2 separate regions of the Homo sapiens genome follow, and region 1 is linked to region 2. The links are contacts of gene promoters, found by promoter capture Hi-C in human tissues and cell types (Jung and others, 2019). All regions are on one chromosome and are shown on one strand. Each heading gives the region's core, a stretch centred on a gene start or on the middle of the fragment in contact. The rest is flanking DNA. Distances are from core to core; before and after follow the strand shown.

What was found. Contacts are between HindIII fragments. The study calls those that stand out against the background at their distance.
Region 1: a fragment that was not itself captured here is called in contact with the fragment with the promoter of DLX5 in region 2 in 1 of the 25 tissues and cell types used here (dorsolateral prefrontal cortex).

Annotation. Positions count from the first base shown.
Region 1 is chr7:95,871,394-95,874,093 of GRCh38, forward strand. The region is part of intron 6 of DYNC1I1 (dynein cytoplasmic 1 intermediate chain 1); the gene reads left to right. Among named protein-coding and RNA genes, the nearest start is that of DYNC1I1, 100 kb to the left of the region's middle. The HindIII fragment of the contact is 6,812 bases long and covers 1-2,700 here.
Region 2 is chr7:97,023,555-97,026,254 of GRCh38, forward strand. DLX5 (distal-less homeobox 5) reads right to left here and starts at 1,277. Exons shown (of 3, transcript NM_005221.6): 1 at 715-1,277. The coding sequence starts at 1,069. RefSeq lists enhancers at 783-1,499, 2,426-2,700. The HindIII fragment of the contact is 6,057 bases long and covers 1-2,700 here.

The sequences.
Region 1 (2,700 bases), core at 110-2,609, 1.2 Mb before region 2:
AAAGCCTGTGAGAGTTCACCTAGTCTATCCTTGGGCCTCCAGACAAGAACAGGAAGATCGTTAAAAAACATCCTCACCACCCAACCAAAACATTTGTTTGACTTAATTTGCTGCCAGAGGTATTTGCAGAGCTGTAGCTGGAGGCATGTTTATTTAGCCCAAAACTTGACCCATAGCATAAAGTTATACAACTGAAATAGGAGAAGGAGTGAATTATTTTTTAAAATGTGTACTTAAGATATTGGAAGTGGTAAAGAAATATTTACAAGGGAAGATAAATTAAGGATGAAAAGGCATCAGCTCTAAAGTTTTAAACTGGAGCACATCAAAAGGAAAAGGCTGTACATTCCATTTTATTACTGCAAGGAGAGCTTGGGAGCCCTCATTATGCTGTGGTCCAAGCAGCAGGAAAGGGGGAATTTATTTCTCAGCTATTGGCAGAAGTTCTTTCTGTTTTGTTCACAAGATCCATCAAGCTTTTTTGTGGTGAAGGGCATTTACATGGTTCAGATTACAATACAGAACCCAAAGCTAGCTACCATAGTTCTTGACATTTAAGCAATCCTGGATGGATTTGGACAGAAAAACCTTTCAATTTGGGTTCAGCAAACTGCCCCTCACCACAGGCGATGATGCCTTGACCCTTGGCTGCCGGCAGTCACCCGGCTGCCCGGCCATAGAGGGTGCTGGTGCTCACTTTCACCTGCTGTGGGGAGGTGGTTGGCAGGAGAGCTGCGTGGAGCAGTGGACAGTTGGCACTGAGGTTCTACCATGCGGCAGATGTGGGTTGGCTCCACTGTGGGGTTTGAGCCATGGCAATGTTTTCATGAAAACTGCGCCTTTCAGCGGCAGGAAACAACTACGGAATTTTATGACACAATGAGGCTCTTGGGTGGCTAACATTTGAAGCTCTGGCATATATAACATCCACTTTGGCTTGCTGTTGCCCACAATGTAAGAAGGCATGCTGATTATTTTTTGTCATTGTTTGACTGTGGACAGTTTAATGATAATCAAACTAATGATCTCAGAGCATTGATTTGTTCTGCCTCTAATGGATTCTAGTGCATTCAAGTTCTTACACATTCCCATTTTACTTTTGAAAATGAAGGGGAAGGCACTTTGGATTTGCCCAAGCTTAAGCATCCTTTCTGTACTGTGCACCGTAATGAACATTCTCATCATAGTAAGTATTAATTTTTGATCATAATGATCTGTTATGAGAAACACTCCAGACAGTGATATAAATAAGCAAGATTTAAGTATAAATTCTCCATGAATACTGTTCTTTCAACAAGGTTAGACCTTCCTTCTCTGCAGGGAAAGAAGGCCAAGAATGGCCAACACTGACTTGGAGAAGGATACCTTTGCCCCAATATATTTGAAACACATAATTTTATTCCCAAGTAGCAAGAAAGGAAAACGAAATTATGGTCCCCTCCAAGGCTGCCTCTCTGTTGCCTATTATGAACCCATTTCTGTACCAACCATGAGGTCCTGGGCTTAGGGAGCCAGTCTTTTGCATCTTTATTATAGTGAGTGAGTGCATGGCTTATCCTGAGTACCCAAGAAATGCTGTTGAACGACAAAGATAATGCCAGACATCTCTAGAAACACCAAGTTCACTATGTTCCCCCTGGGGGAATGAGAATTTCTTAATCTGCTGGAAAGATGCAAGCCACACTGGAGGAAGGAGGAGGAAATTTCTACAACCTGGTACATAATCATAGTTTGTTTTGATAGTCACCTGGTATCTTGTGGTCAAGGTTTAATCTCTACTCAGGCCCAGTAGCAAACCAAGACATCTCTCTCAAAGGGAGAGTAATGCAATAAAGAGGCCACATTATTATTCTAAAATCTAAGCACTTCTTCTGAGACTCACCTCTTAGGGACATTTGTTTGATTTGCCATAGACACTTGGGGCACCATTGGGTCAGCTGGACCATAATTTCCAAGTAGTATAGCCATTTGAAAGAAAAACTTTCAAACCACTGGGTAAATGGATTGAATAAATAGGTGCAAATGTTGAACATGTTGCCTGCAAAACCCAGAATGACCCACTAAGCATTTCGACTCTTAATATTAGAGAATTAAGGTATTCACATATACTTTGGAGTTTACCAGATGACTAGACCAATAGAGACTTTCTTAAGGTAGCGAGTACTTATGTTTTCAAAGATTTTTCCTCCATCCTCTGGCCTACATAATGTCTTAACTAGGTCTTAAAGATACCAGCTACAGCTTCCTCTCCAGGTCCTGCTGACATGATGCTCCATGTTGAAGGTGAGATTGACAAGGGCTACAGATAGAGAACTGGCTCAGCCCTGAGGTAGGATGATGAAGATGCAAAGAGAAAGGCTGCAGGTCTTTGGCTGTCAAGCAAGGCTTAGTGTAGAACATGGTTTGGAGGTACTCCCAGGCCTCCGTATTCTTACCTACATTCAATTTCCCATTATTTCCTGATCATTGCTGTCACTTTCACATAAGTCACCTGGTGACACTAGCAATTCCACAGACCTTATTCAGAAACCCACAGAATTTAAACTTTGCATTTGACTTTGACATTTTTGTAGATACTTATCACAAGCAGAGAAAGTCCATGGGTCTATGCCTAGATCTAAAATATAGAGACTTCAACCTGTCATCTATTTCTTACAGCTGTCCAGTCCCATTAGAAGTATCCACCTCATCCTAGTGTCT
Region 2 (2,700 bases), core at 27-2,526:
AACTCTCTAAGTAAGTTTCAAAGCGGACGAAAAAGGAGGACGGAAAGACAAATTGTGGGCGCCTATGGAGACAGAAAAAAAAATCTATCCTACAACGTGACCCCTCAGCAACCCTCCTCCACCTTTAAATGGCTTTTTGTTTTTGGAAATGCCTGGATAAACCGCAAAACTCTCGGCGCGCTCTTCTCTGGCTGGCTACAACTCCTTAACCCCCCCACCCCCACCCAGCGTGCTCAGGGCACCCGCACCGTGCTAGCTTGTGGCGGCTCTCAAACTAATCCTGACTGAGTTTTTGAGGCAGCCTTCTATTCCCACTCGCACCAACCCAGCACGCTTACCAAAATTCCCAAGTAACCTTCTCTTTGTTACGCAAACGCCAGGAGCTGCTTGATTCTTTCTTCTCTCCACCCCTATCCCCTTTCCAGCCTAGCCGGCTTCCTGGCCGGGCAAGCTGGGAATTCAGCGACTGAAGGGCCTTGGAAGGTGCCGGAGGGGAGAGACGCTAGTTCGAACCTCCACAGGGCTCTCCTACTAAAAATCCCTAAAATGCTGGCCCGAGAAACTCTCTTTGTTGGAGGGTCTGAGTCCTACTCCCTTCTGCCGCGTGCGCCCCCACTGCCGTGAACCGCTGTGACCCCCAATCTACCACCCCATCTCGCGCCCCCAGCGTCCTAGTCGCCCTGTATCTGCCCAGCCTTCCCCCTGTCCATGTACCTGGCTGGTTGGTGGCGCTTGGGACGCGGTTGTAGGCGCCGCCGTACTGGTGGTAGGAGCTAGCGTAGCTATAGTCGGCATAAGCTTTGGCTGGGTAGCTCCCGGCGGAGCCGTTCACGCCGTGATACTGATACTGGTAGGGGTTGAGAGCTTTGCCATAGGAAGCCGAGGTAGGAGAGCAGTAGCCGTGCGGGGCTCCCCCCGTAGGGCTGTAGTAGTCAGAATCGGTAGCTGAAGACTCGGGCAAAGTTGGCGATTCCTGAGACGGATGGTGCATAGCTGCGGACGTCTGGAACGGAGCTTGGAAGTCGCCGGATCGGATGCTGGGGACCCTTCTGTCAAACACTCCTGTCATCGCTCACGGGCGGCGGCAGCGGCTGTCCTTGCTGTTGTGGCGGCGGCAGCTGCCCTAGTTGGCTGTGGGGCTGCTCTGGTCTAAGCAGACATGGCTGTGGGAGCGAGGGAGGAGGAGGAAGAGGAGGAGGAGAGAAGGAGGAGGCGGCGGCCGCGGCGAGGAGGAGACTGGGAGTCGTGAAGTCTCTGTCTCCGGCCGGCTGACTGCTGGCTGAGGCGCAGCACAGCCTTGGTTAAATCCTTAATTGCGCGCTTACGCACAGCGGGGTGGATCTGGTTCTATTGGCCAGGGCCTCGGGAGCAACAGTAACACCCTAACTCGTCCAACTAGTTTTAGCACAACAAAGCATTGCTTAAAAAGGGGGTGGGGGGTACTGAGGGGGTGTGTGTGTTTGTGTGTGTGCGCGCCCGCGCGCTTGTGTGTGTTTTTGCTTGTTGTGGAGTGGGGAGGGGTCTTAGTCTATCTGTTTTTAGTAAATTCCAAAGACATCGCAGAAGCCACAGCACAAGGCTCTGTGATGTCTGGGGACAATGTGTTCCAATCAGAAGCCTCAAAAGTGCACATGTTTTGGGAATGAGGTGGGCGACCATCTTTCCTTGCTTCCCACTACCCCGCCCCCGTGGGCTGCACCAAAGGCGAGTGTAGAATTAAACACTGATACTGAAATAGGGAGTCAAGGTGCAGGGAGTGGGGAGCGGGGGGATGTAGGATGGAGGCAAGAAGGAAGGGAAACAGCATTTTTTTTTTTTTTAGTGGAGTGTTGGGAAGCAAGTTGTAACTTACATGTTTTGAAAATTTGCTCTTTGGGGAAAGAGGCAACTTCCTTTGCAGGAGATGAGTATCTCCCGGACGCGGGCTGGACAGGAATGCCCAAGAAGGCACAATGTCCATTAAGCCGGTGAATGGCAGGGAGAGTTCCTGCAGCCCAAAGTCCTTATAATGACTTTTAAAAATTACTGTCTTAAACACATATAACTTAAGGAAGCCCAAATCCTCGTTGCTGGCTTGCAAAAAGAGCCAAACAGCTCCACTTCTGTTTAATATTTTCATCTATTTTCAAGACATTGGAATAAAGGCTCTTTAACTATGTTCAGTGGCCAAAGACTCCCGCAAAGGTGAATGGATCCATGTATAACCTGCCATACCTCCAGGAAAGAATGGGAAAGTCTCGGAAGTGGGGAAGGAGACAAGGATCAAAGCCTTTGCAAAGTCAGATGATGCTCATTGATTTCCCCCTCCTGGCTCCATGAATGTGGCCCAGTCTCTCCATTTCCCAGACCCGGGTTTCTGTACCCTCTCCCCTTTATTTCCTGCTGCAAAGACATCCTACTTAGCTCGTATGCAAGGGAAGAAAGGATTCAAGAATCATTCAGTTGATACACGAGATCTAAACTTTGCTCTTCAGGAGGTGCTATCCTTGTTCTAGTCGTGATTCAGCTGGGAGTTTAGAAATTCAGCATAAAAGTCTCTCCCAATCCCCATTGTTACTCCCCTCAAATAGGCAACTCCGCGGACTAGATCCTGATTTGGGGCCTTCCTACATCTTCCTTTACGGGGTCCAAGACCGGCAATCTGGGAGTTCCACAGGCTATCTAGGGTTATCTGGCCTCCCCTCCGTTTTCCCTCCTACC